4 separate regions of the Homo sapiens genome follow, and regions 1, 2 and 4 are each linked to region 3. The links are contacts of gene promoters, found by promoter capture Hi-C in human tissues and cell types (Jung and others, 2019). All regions are on one chromosome and are shown on one strand. The core of a region is centred on a gene start or on the middle of the fragment in contact, and the rest is flanking DNA. Distances in the headings are between cores, read along the strand shown. Region 1 overlaps CUL9 (cullin 9). Region 2 has its middle 9.5 kb from the start of UBR2. Region 3 holds the start of RPL7L1 (ribosomal protein L7 like 1). Region 4 has its middle 6.1 kb from the start of CRIP3.

Evidence for each region. Contacts are between HindIII fragments. The study calls those that stand out against the background at their distance.
Region 1: a contact is called between a fragment that was not itself captured here and the fragment with the promoter of RPL7L1 in region 3, in 2 of the 25 tissues and cell types used here (aorta and spleen).
Region 2: a fragment that was not itself captured here is called in contact with the fragment with the promoter of RPL7L1 in region 3 in 2 of the 25 tissues and cell types used here (mesendoderm cells and small bowel).
Region 4: a fragment that was not itself captured here is called in contact with the fragment with the promoter of RPL7L1 in region 3 in 1 of the 25 tissues and cell types used here (liver).

The regions. Positions count from the first base shown.
Region 1 is chr6:43,217,112-43,220,179 of GRCh38, forward strand. All of the region lies in intron 31 of CUL9 (cullin 9), which reads left to right. Among named protein-coding and RNA genes, the nearest start is that of DNPH1, 11 kb to the right of the region's middle. The HindIII fragment of the contact is 8,126 bases long and covers 1-3,068 here.
Region 2 is chr6:42,552,948-42,556,173 of GRCh38, forward strand. No RefSeq gene overlaps it. Among named protein-coding and RNA genes, the nearest start is that of UBR2, 9.5 kb to the right of the region's middle. The HindIII fragment of the contact is 6,616 bases long and covers 1-3,226 here.
Region 3 is chr6:42,877,964-42,880,953 of GRCh38, forward strand. It overlaps RPL7L1 (ribosomal protein L7 like 1), which reads left to right and starts at 1,653. Exons shown (of 6, transcript NM_001366481.3): 1 at 1,653-1,988; 2 at 2,898-2,990. The coding sequence starts at 1,948. RefSeq lists enhancers at 665-1,622, 1,365-1,834, 1,623-2,579, 1,855-1,914. The HindIII fragment of the contact is 12,927 bases long and covers 1-2,990 here.
Region 4 is chr6:43,313,472-43,316,348 of GRCh38, forward strand. No RefSeq gene overlaps it. Among named protein-coding and RNA genes, the nearest start is that of CRIP3, 6.1 kb to the left of the region's middle. The HindIII fragment of the contact is 4,386 bases long and covers 1-2,877 here.

The DNA of each region.
Region 1 (3,068 bases), core at 57-2,556, 340 kb after region 3:
TTGGGAGGCTGATGTAGGCAGATTGCTTGAGCCCAGGAGTTCGAGACCAGCCTGGGCAACATGGCAAGACCCCGTCTCTACAAAAAAATACAAAAATAAGATGGGCATGGTGGTGCACACCTATAGTCCCAGCTACTTGGGAGGCTGAAGTGGGAGGATCACCTGAGCCTGGGAGGCGGAGGCTGCAGTGAGCCAGTATCTCGCCACTGCACTTCAGCCTGAAGGACAGAGTGAGACCCTGCCTCAGGGTCTTCTTGCTCTATAGGCTTGCTTCTATATAGTGGACACAGAAGCTTGCATTTGGGGAGTGAGTCATCTTCAAAAATAAAAAATGTGGGGCTGAGGTACAGAGAACCTGGAGCACTGAGTCCGATATTCCTGCCTCACAGCTCTTTAGAACTGGTGCCAAGCCCAAACACTTCAGTTTAGCAGGAGGGGCACTCCTGGTTGCCATGAATTCCAGCTGCTTCTGCCAACAGCGTTTCCCCAGTAGTGGGTGATAGACGTGTCTGCATGTGCTTGTGTGCACGTGCATGCGTGTGTATTCTCTTTTTCTCTTTCCCTTTGGCTGTGCTTCTGGCTTCTCCTCTCACATAGTTGCTTATGCTCCCTTTTCCCCAGGTTCTTAATTATTTCCTTTACACTTTCATTTTTTCATTCAACAAATATTTCTCATGGATTTATGTGCATAGCACTGGGTGCTAAATGAGGTATTGAAAAAAATCCCAGCAAGAAATGACCAGAGAGCTAATAATATTGATGGGAGCTCACTCTGAGCCAGGCATTGTGCTGTTTACATGCATTATTTTACTTAATTCTCATACTAGTTCTATGAGGTAGGTATTTTTGTTATTCCCATTTTACATGACAGAGGGAGACACTCAGAGGTGAAGTAATTTGCCAAAGGTCAGGATTTGAATTTTGGCAGTCTCAGGCAATCCTCCCGCCTTGACCTCCCAAAGTGCTGGAATTATAGGCATAAGCCACCACACCCAGCCTGACAGTGGATTTTATTTTATGAGAAGCCATGGTGGGTTTAAGCAGAATATTGATATTATCTGGTTTACATTTTTTATTTTTATTATATTATTTATTTATTTTTATTTTATTATTATTATTTTTTGAGATGGAGTCTCACTCTGTCACCCAGGCTGCAGTGCAGTGGCGCGATCTCGGCTCATTGCAACCTCCATCTCCCGGGTTCAAGCGATTCTTCTGCCTCAGCCTCCCGAGTAGCTGGGACTATAGGCGCCCGCCACCGCGCCCGGCTAATTTTTTGCATTTTTAGTAGAGACGGGGTTTCACTGTGTTAGCCAGGATGGTCTCGATCTCCTGACCTCGTGATCCACCCACCTCAGCCTCCCAAAGTGCTGGAATTACAGGCGTGAGCCACTGCGCCCGGCCCTACATTTTTTAAAAGATCGCTTCTGCCGTTGTGTGGAGAAAAGGCTTGGAGGGAGCAAGAGTGGAAGCAGGAAGGCCCATTTGGTGACTGTTGTACGAGAGACAAGAGATGGTGGTAGTTTGGACTGGGGCAGTGGCGATGAGAGAGGGTGGATTGGGACACATTTGGAAGTGGAGCTGACGGGAGTTGGTGGGTTAAATGTAGGGGCTTCAGACAGGGGAATCAAGGATGGTTCCTGTGCTTTGACCTGAGCACCTGGGTGGATGGCATGTGTCATCTTTACTCTGTTGTGGCCCTGTGAAGTTTGAGCTGCTTGTTGGACACCTGTGTGGAACTGGCAGGTAGACAGTGGATTTTTGAATTTGGAATGAAGCAGAGAGGCCTGGCAGGCCTTACCCAAGGAGAAAGAAGCAGACCCAGGGAACCAAGCCTGTAAAGATACAGAGACGGGGGGTCTCAGGAGTTTGAGACCAGCCTAGACAACACAGCAAGACCCCATAGCTACAAAAAATAGAAAAAAACTTTACCCAGGCATGGTGGTGCACACCTATAGTCCTGCCTACTCAGGAGGTTGAGGTGGGAGGATTGCTTGAGTCCAGGAGATTGAGGCTGCGGTGAACCATGATTGTGCCATTACCCTCCAGTGTGGGTGACAAAGCGAGACTTTGTTTAAAAGAGAGAGAGAGAGAGAGAGACAAGGGGCCTGAAAACCAGGCAGATGAACAGGCTGATTGAAAAGCCCCTGCAAGGAGGAGCCTGTGCAGCATTGGTCACAGCTGAGTGGCACAACAGCAATGCAAGAGAAGCAGCCGGACAGCTCCCAGGGTGAGCCCCACCACTTGGGTTGGACAGTAGTCATGAGAGCAGCTGGGAGTCCCCAGACTGAGATGCCAGGGCAGAGGGGGACCCTGAGGCACTGGTGTGCCTGTAAGAATAGGGTCTGAATTCAGAGAAAATTTTCCCTGTTCTATCTCAAAAATGTAAGAATTTGCATTCAATTTCCCAACTTTGGGTTTGTTTCAATGCAGAAAGGGTTTTGTTTACTTTGGTCTGGTACTTTGAGTAAAAATGACCTAGTCAGGTGCTTCAAATTTATGCTGCAGCTTTGATATCACAGACACACGGTCTCCTGAGGGTTTAGACCCATCATTTTGGAAGGCATGGCCATAGGCAGTGTGAGAGGCAGGGGTCACTCATGGAGTATTGTAGGAGGCTCAGACGGCTGCAACGGCTGCTCGTGCATAGACCAAATGGATGGTGTAGGGAGAGACCGGGAGAGGAGACCATGGATCAGGCTCTCACAGTGGTTTAGGGATGAGGGGATAATGGCCTGATTTAGGATGGGGGAGTGACATGGGAGCAAGAGAACGATATGAAAGTTCCAACACTGGTGACGAGGGGGACAGTGGTGCAAGTTGATCAGGGTTTGGGGGACGCAATGGGCAAGTCAGTTTTGTAGAGAAGAGGCTGGGTCTGTTGGAGGCATAAGTCAGAGACAGGAGCATCCGGACGGTCATTGGAGATAAGCCACTGGAGCTGGGAGGAGAGACCAGAGCTGTGTTGTCAGCCACCCAGGCAACCCATTTCCCAGGCCTCCTTTCTCTCGGACCTTCCTGCTCTCTGCATATCTTTCTGAGAATTTGAATCGTTCTCCTTTTTCTTA
Region 2 (3,226 bases), core at 654-3,153, 320 kb before region 3:
CAAATTTTATGTAACTTATGACCATATGAATTCATTGCTGAAGCCAGTGAGGGCCCCTGAAGCTTAAGCTTTACTAGTTTCATGGGAAATCTACCTCTGGAACTAGGCCAACAGGGTAACCAATCCGTTTTGGAGTAGATAGAAAACTCCAGGAGAGATCTCTACAAGACTGGGGGGAAAAAATGGCCGGGCACGGTGGCTCATGCCTGTAATCCCAGCTACTGGGGAGGCTGAGGCACAAGAACTGCTTGAACTCGGGAGGCGGAGGTTGCAGTGAGTCGAGATGGCACCATTGCACTACAGCCTGGGTGACAGAGCAAGACTGTTTAAAAAAAAGAAAAAACGAAGGAAGGAAGGAAGGAAGGAAGGAAGGAAGGAAGGAAGGAAGGAAGGAAAGAAAAGATTTAAAAAAATTTTTTTTTTGAGACAAGGTCTCGCTCCATCACTCAGACTGGAGTGCAGTGGAGCAATCTCAGCTCTTGCAACCTCTGCCTCCCAGGCTCAAGTGATCCTCCCACCTAAGTCTCCCGAGTAGCTGGGACCACAGGTGTACACCACCATGCTCCGCTAATTTTTTAAGGTTTCTGTAGAGACAAGGTGTCACTATATTGCCCAGGCTGGTCTCGAACTCCTGGCCTCAAGAAATCCTCCGGCCTTGGCCTCCCAGAGTGCTGGGATTACAGGCATGAGCCACCACGCCCAGCCCAAGATAAAATTTATAGACCACTGGATGTGTCTCAGTACAATGGGAGATTTAGACAATTGACAATTCGAAGTTCAGTCCCAGGAGATAATTTATATCAGCAACAACAGGTACAGAAAACATAAAATGTTCTTCAGAATCTTTTTAGTTTATATTTATTTATATAATGTATTTTGTTAACTTTTTTATTGTCTGAGGGCTCTTTGTATACCAGCGCTTTATAATATTCCCACTAGAGACTAAAGGAAACCCACTCTCAGTACTTCCCAATGAGAAGAAAAAAGTTGCAATTGGCTGTCACCAAAGCCAATGTCCCTGTAAAAGTGGGAGGCGGGTAACCTTGTCCCCAAGAAAAGCAGAGTGTATGCCTACAGAGTTTAACCACGGATACAACTATCTTGGTGTTGAGAGGTGACAACCTGCTAGCAGCCCTCGCTGGCTCTCGGCGCCTCCTCGGCCTCTGCGTCCGCTCTGGCCGCGCTCGAGGAGCCCTTCAGCCCGCCGCTGCGCTGTGAGGGCCCCTCTCTGGGGCTGGCCGAGGCCGGAGCCGGCTCCCTCTGCTCACTGGGAAGTGTGAAAAGAGAGGCGCCGGCGGGAGCTGGGGCTGCGCGCGGGCTCCGCAAGTCCCGCACTCTGCGCGGCGGGCCGGCGCCTGCTGGGCTTGACTGGGGGACGAGCTCCCTCTGGGCTGCCGGAGTGCCCGGCTAGGTGCCCCAAAATCCCGCAGCCAGTGCCAGTGACAAGTGAAGCCGGCTAGGCTTCTGGGATATTGGGGACTGGGAGAACTTTTCTGTCTAGCTAAAGGATTGTAAACGCACCAATCAGCACTCTCTGTCTAGCTAAAGGTTTGTAAACGCACCAATCAGCACTCTGTCAAAACGGACCAATCAGCTCTCTGTAAAATGGACCAATCAGCTCTCTGCAAAATGGACCAATCAGCAGGATGTGGGTGGGGCCAGATAAGGGAATAAACGCAGGCCACCAATGCCAGCAGCAGCAACCTGATCAGGTACTCTTCTGTGTGGCGGGGGTGCTTTGTTCTTTTGCTCTTTGCAATAAATGTTGGTGCTGCTCCGTCTTTGGGTCTGTGCTGCTTTTGAGAGCTGTAACACTCACTGTGAAGGTCTGCAGCTTCGCTCATGAAGCTAGCGAGATCACGAACCTGCCAGAAGGAAGAAACTTCAGACACATCTGAAGGAACAAACTCTGGACACACCACCTTTAAGAACTGTAACACTCACTGCAAGGGTTTGAGGCTTCATTCTTGAAGTCAGTGAGACCGAGAACCCACCAATTCTGGACACAGTGTGACACTCCTGAGATAGATCTATGTCCAATGTTTTGAAAGAATTCCAGGACATGAAAGTTCTCAATCTTTTACCCATGGCCTTTAAGATAAACCCGGCTAGACAGGGTGGCTCATGCCTCTAGTCCCAACACTTTGGGAGGCCAAGGCAGTGGATTGCTGGAGGTCAGGAGATCAAGACCATCCTGGCCAACATCATGAAACCCTGTCTCTACTAAAAATACAAAAATTTAGCATGCATGGTCGTGGACGCCTGTAATCTCAGATACTTGGGTGGCTTGGGGCCAAAGAATTGCTTGAACCCAGGAGGTAGAGGTTGCAGTGAGCCAAGATTGCACCACAGCACTCTAGCCTGGGCAACAGAGCAAGCTGGAAGAGAGAGAGAGAGAGAGAGAAGGAAGGAAGGACAGGAGAAGAGAAACCCAACTAATTAGTTTAGGACCAGTCCAGAAGAAGGGAGACTGGGTTTTGGCCTAACATACACAAGCTTGGTTATTTTAATTAGGAAATAAATAATTTGCCTAGAAGTAGGCCTGTAGGGGGAACAGCCTGTCTTGGGACGAACATGAGCCTTGGAGTTGGTGAGACCAGATTTCAAATGCCAGTTGAGCTGCTGATCTAACAATGCAACTGAATTGATTAGCTACTGGTACATACAAAATCACCTCAAAGTTTAGTGGCTTAAAACAACAAGCATTTATTTAGATTACAATTCTGCAGGTCAGCAATTTAGGCCAGTGCTCCTGGTCTCCCTGGCCTCTCTCACCTGCCTCTGAGGCAGGAGAATAGGGTTTGGAGGTAGAGAACCTAAGGCAGATTCACACTGACTTCCTAGAACTAAATCAAAAGGAAAACCGCAGTTGCAGTGAGCTGAGATGGTACCACTGTACTCCAGCCTGGGTGAACCCCAACTTTCCACACCCAAGTAACAAATGATCAGAGGCTACTCCCTTTGCAAGCCTCTCCTCCCTGCTACCCCACCCTGTTTTCTGCCTGGCAGATGAAAAACTGAAAGTACCTCTGATTGGTCCCCTCCTGGAACCAATCAGGCTGGTCAAGGGCCAAGTCTTCATTTGCATAGAAGTATAACTTTGTAACTTCAGCCTCTGATTGGTCACTTTTCGCAACCAATCAGACATTTGCATAGGGTGTAACTTGGCAACTTCAGTCTCTGGTTGCATTTACCTAGGGTGTATACCAAGTAACCAATGGGAAAC
Region 3 (2,990 bases), core at 403-2,902:
AATAGTGCCAAAATCGAGAAATTGGTGCTAGATCCTTAGGATCAGTGATGAGTAAGCAGTCATGGTTCCTGCCCCCCCTAGTATCATGTGGAAGAAATATTAAAAATATAATAATGTCCTGAGGGAAATCAGACACTACTCTAGAGTCTTACTAGTCAGCCCATAGACCAGTAGCACCAGCGTCACTCTGAAGCCTGTTAAAAATGCAGAATATTGGCCAGGTGCGGTGGCTCACGCCTGTAATCCCAGCACTTTGGGAGGCCGAGGCGGGCGGATCACGAGGTCAGGAGATCGAGACCATCCTGGCTAACAAGGTGAAATCTCTACTAAAAATTCAAAAAATTAGCCAGGCGTGGTGGCGGGCGCCTGTAGTCCCAGCTACTCGGGAGGCTGAGGCAGGAGAATGGCGTGAACCCGGGAGGCGGAGCTTGCAGTGAGCCAAGATCGCGCCACTGCACTCCAGCCTGGGCGACAGAGCGAGACGCCATCTCAAAAAAAAAAAAAAAAAAAAAGCAGAATATCAGCTCCCCACCCGGCCTCCTGAATAAAAATCTGTATTTTAGTAAAATCTTCAGGTGACTCCTATTCACTATTAATGCTTGAGAAGCGCTGCTCTGGAGGTTTCCAGAGATGATAAGACTTGTGTTGTTTTTCAGGATTTTTAATTTTAAAAAAAATTTATTTCTTGTTTTTTTTGAGACTGTCTCGCTCTGTCGCCCAGGCTGGAGTGCAAGTGGCACAAACTCGGCTCACGCAGCCTCCGCCTTCTGGGACTTCAGGCGCGAGCCACCACGCCCAGCTAATTTTTTGTATTTTTAGTAGAGACGGGGTTTCACCATCTTAGCCATGCTGGTCTCCAACTCCTGACCTCAAGTGATCCACCTGCCTTGGCCTCCCAAAGTGCTGGGATTACAGGTGAAAGCCACCGGCCCGACCTACTGTTTTTCAGGATTCTATATAGACTGGGAGGGAAGAACGCAAATTCCGGGCGATGAGAGCTGCATAAGGGTTTTATTTTTATTCTTTTTTTTTCTTTTCTTTTCTTTTTGTTTTTTTGAGACGGAGTCTTGCTCTGTCGCCCAGGCTGGTGGGCAGTGGCGCGATCTCGGCTCACTGTAACCTCCGCCCAAGACGGGGTTTCGCCGTGTTGGCCAGGCTGATCTCGAACTCCTGACCTCAGGTGATCCTCCCGTCTCGGCCTCCCTCCCAAAGTGCTGGGATTACAGGCGTGAGCCACCGCGCCCGGCCTGTGTAACGGTTTTAGACGGGAAGGAAGCATGTTGTAGTTTTCGGTCCAGCAGTAATAGTAACAAACATAGTGCTGACAGACACTGCTAAACGCTTTATCTAATCTCCTGTAATCCTCGTAACGCCATTAGGTAGACCTATTATTACTGTACACCCATTTTATGGGTAATGAAGCCGCAGTATAGAGGGGTTAAATAACGTGTTCAAGGACGCATCGACGGGGCCAAGCAGACGGAATTGCAGCTACCTGCTTTACCACTCTAAGTCCTCAACAAACACTTCCACCTACACGTGAGAGCCAAAGCCATAGCCTCCAAGTTTTTCCACAGAGCGAAAATGTTTCGCGGAGTTTGCCTGTCTTCCTCCCCAGAGACGCAGCACAGCCGCGCCGGAAGTGCGGCGCCGTAGCTAGGAGCGGACGCCATAGGTGCATTGTGGGAAGCACTTTGCTGTCCACAGCCAGGCCGCTTGTGATGAAACTGTAACTTACAAGAAAAGGGCTGGGTTTTGAAAATAACACAGGCTCTAAAAACCCTAAGAAGCGGTGCAACTTTTGGCAGGAATCGGGGTTAGCGGGACCTCAAGGGCTCACTGCGGCTAAGTGAACGCTGACTGGTCCTCCAGCGTGAGCTAGAACAGACGTCTCTATGGTCAAGTAAACAGAGCGTGTGCTGTCTTCCCCATGTGGTGGGGTTGCGCATGATCAGTAGCTGCACCACTAGAAAGATGGCGGAGCAAGAGTGAGTGTTTGGGGCTTTGAATATCTGGAGTGGGGTCTTGAGTATCCGGTGCCATCCACGGTGTTTATGCCTTGGTGGCGGATTCCTGTGGGCTCTAGGAATAGAAAAGGCCACAGTTTACAAAGGGTGGGGGTGAGGAGGAGTAGCGCTGTGGCGGAGGAGGGAGGGGACCGCGGTCAAGTTCGGGTTATCTGGAGAGGCGAGGATTGACTTCAGGCAGCGGGCTGGAGTGCCACAGTTGAATTCACCCAGCCCGACAAGTGTTAACTCTGCAGATAGGCCTGCCCCCGCCCCAACCCCATAGATTCGTCGCTGCTAGTGCCTATGAAGAACTGTGGCCGTGAAAACCCTGTTAACTTATACGAACCCAGAGGCTAAAGGATTCATTATTTTCCGAGGCTTTGGGGATGAGTGACTATTAGGGATGGATTTATGAGGCCTGGAGTCAGAAACCGCAGGTTTCAGGGGAATCTTTCTTCAGATACTTGAAAACAGTAATGTTCCCTAAAGCCCAGGATATTGAATTGGTTTGGAAATCCATTGAATGTTCGTTTTCTTTTTTGTTGTTGTTTTTGTTTTGAGACGGAGTCTTGCTCTGTCCCCCAGGCTGGAGCGCAGTGTCGGGATCTCGGCTCGGTGCAACCTCCGCCTCCCGGGTTCAAGCGATTCTCCTGCCTCAGTCTCCCGAGTAGCTGGGATTACAGGCGTGCGCCACCACGCCCAGCTGATTTTTTATTTTTAGTAGAAACGGGGGTTTCACCATGTTGGTCAGGCTGGTCTCGAACTCCTGACCTCAGGTAATCCACCCACCTCGGCCTCCCAGAGTGCTGGGATTACAGGCTTGAGCCACCGAGCCCGGCCAAGTGTTCTTTTCTAAATGTTATCTCTGATCTCAATTTTCTGCATCAGGCAAAGAAAAATCCCTTTGGTTCCAGAAAATCTCCTGAAAAAGAGGAAGGCTTATCAAGCCCTCAAAGCCACCCAGGCAAAGCAGGCACTTTT
Region 4 (2,877 bases), core at 261-2,760, 440 kb after region 3:
ATCTGCCTGGGCAGGTCATCTTTACCCCAGCATCTAGCACAGGGCCCAACACAAAGGAACAAACCTTGCGGTGTGAGTCCCATGTTGCTTTCACATAGCTTGCAATCAGTCAGTGGCGCAAATGCTTTACTGCTCCCCACATCTTGTAGGGCCTTTATTGTATGGCCTAATCTCACAATATGCTTCGGCTCTTCTATTTCAGTGCTTAGGAAAGACTAGTTGAGGCTCCACCCTTCCAAACACTTGCACTATGCATTTGCAGGTACAGCAAATTACAGTAGTCCACTTTTCTTCTTTGCCTGGTTTCCATTATTGACTCGAACAGAAGCTATGTAAAGAATAACTGGGAAAACACATTTCTTGTAGGAATGCATTTGAGTTACTGACAGTGGATGTTTTGAAGAACAGTTGGTGTGACTAAAGTCTCTAAAATGATATTTTAATAAATACTACAGATGGGTAAGTCCACCTCAAAGAAGGTATTACTCAATTGTTAAGGTGCAGTTTGTGTCATCTCCCATTAGAGGCAGGCCTCTTTCTCACAAAGACCACTGTTCCCTTAGTGCCCGCCCTGCCTTTTTCCTGCACAGACCTCTGTTACAGTATCTGTAACATTGTATGACACTTGTTTACTTGTTTGACTTTGACAGAACTGATGGAGAATTATCTGTGTATCTTTAACAGTGAGTGCAGTATAGGTAATCAGTAAATGATAGCTATTATTATTAAACTCTCCCACTAACTTTACTTCATGTTTTTAAGCTCTATTATTAGGTACATAAATGTTTCAGGATTGTGTTTGCTCGAGGAATTAACCGTTTGATTAGTGTTGTTAGAAAAGCTGAAGAAACAAGCTTTTCCATTCTAGGTGAGTAAGTGGTCCCGTAGAGATAGTGACTTCTAGTCCCTGGAGGGCTGTCACATGGAAAAGGCATTAGGGGTACTACCAAGACCCCTGGAGAGAGAACACAGGGAAGCAGATTTGGATTAGGTCCCCTCCAAAACCCTTTTAATAGAGCCCCAATATAGAGTGGCTGCTTCAGACAGTGGTGAGCTTCCTGTTTCTGGACACAATACTGGACAATAAACCAACTGATCCTCAGTGTTGCAGAAGGTATCCAAATATCATATGCAGATAGAACTTTAAAGCCTCTTCATGATTTAACAATTATGATTCTGTGATTCCTTTCCCAAAAAGGAGCTTGAAACTTGTGTTAGAAAGAGGGCATTACTAGAGCTGATGAAGGGTAGAAATGTTACATTCCCAATTGTATAAAAAAGAAAGTGGCTTGGTAAGGTTACGAAATTAGTAAAACATTTGGCCAGGTGCGGTGGCTCATGCCTGTAATCCCAGCACTTTGGGAGGCCGAAGTGGGAGGATCACCTGAGGTTAGGAGTTCGAGACCAGACTGTCCACCATGGTGAAACCCCGTCTCTACTTAAAATACAAAAAACTTAGCTGGGCGTGGTGGCAGGTGCCTGTAATCCCAGCTACTCAGGAGGCTGAGGCATGAGAATTGCTTGAACCTGGGAGGTGGAGGTTGCAGTGAGCCGAGATCGCACCACTGCAGTCCAGCCTGGACGACAGAGCAAGACTCAGTCTCAAAGAAAAAGAAAAAAAGAAATGTGTAAAACATCATACAGACCCAAGCATTCTGACTCTTGAGCCCATACTCTTTCCACTCTATACCCCCCTAAGCATGGTTTTTGCCCATGTGTTTCAACCTGAAAAGACACTACACTTGTCTGCACAGCACCTCCATACCTGAAGATAAGAGGGCCTATCCAGGAAAATAATGGGTTGAGATGCAAGGGGCAGGGAAATGTCATTAAAACCTTTCCATGATTTCTCAGTATCCTCAAGACAGGACCCTCCACTTTTCCAGTCTTCTAGCCATTTCTCCTGTTGCATCGACCCCTCCATCCACATCAAATGAGCTTCTTGAATCTGTTAAGTTCTATTCTGCCTCAGGGCTTTTGCAAAGGCCATCTTTTCTGAGAATTCACTTCCCCAGTATCTTCACCTCATCAATTCCTACCTAACCTCAGCTCCCCCTCAACTACTCCACACCAGGTTATTGACCCCAAGCACTGTTTCTATACCACCATCCTCTCCTGGAGGGTAGAGGGGGCCCAAACTATGACAGCTGTGTTTTCCCTGAGTGCTGAACCAAATAAGAAATAAAAGACAAACAGAGATCCTTTATTATTATTATTATTACTATTTTGAGACAGTCTCATTCTGTTGCCCAGGCTGGAGTGCAGTGGCATGATCTCAGCTCACTGCAATCTCTGCCTCCCAGGTTCAAGTAATTCTCCTGCCCCAGCCTCCCTAGTAGCTGGGATTACAGGAGTGTGCCACCATGCCCGGCTAATTTTTGTATTTTTAGTAGAGACAAGGTTTCACCATGTTGGCCAGGCTGGTCTTGGACTTTTGACTTCAAGTGATCCACTCACCTTGGCCTCTCAAAGTGCTGGGATTACAGACATGAGCCACCACCCAGCCCATCATCTTTATTATTGATAAAGGACAGGTTGTAGTTTAGAAAGTGAAATAAATATGGTAACTTCCTGCCTACCTCCTCCACTCCAATCTGGGCTTTGTCTGCCCCCTTAGTCTGTGAGATCCATGAGAGCAGGGACCAGGCTGCTTTGCCAACCATTGCATATATTTCCAGTGCCTTGCTCAAATCTCTGGCACATAGTGCTCAACAAATACTTGCTGGTGAATGAATGTTACATGTTATATACAAGTCCCCCTGAGTGTGATAGATGAGTGCTAGTGAGAGATGTGGGAATAAGAGGGGACTGGTAGAGGTTGAGAGTTGGTAACAACGAGTGTCCTGGAGTGAAGGAAGTTCAGCTGCCTAGGAATAA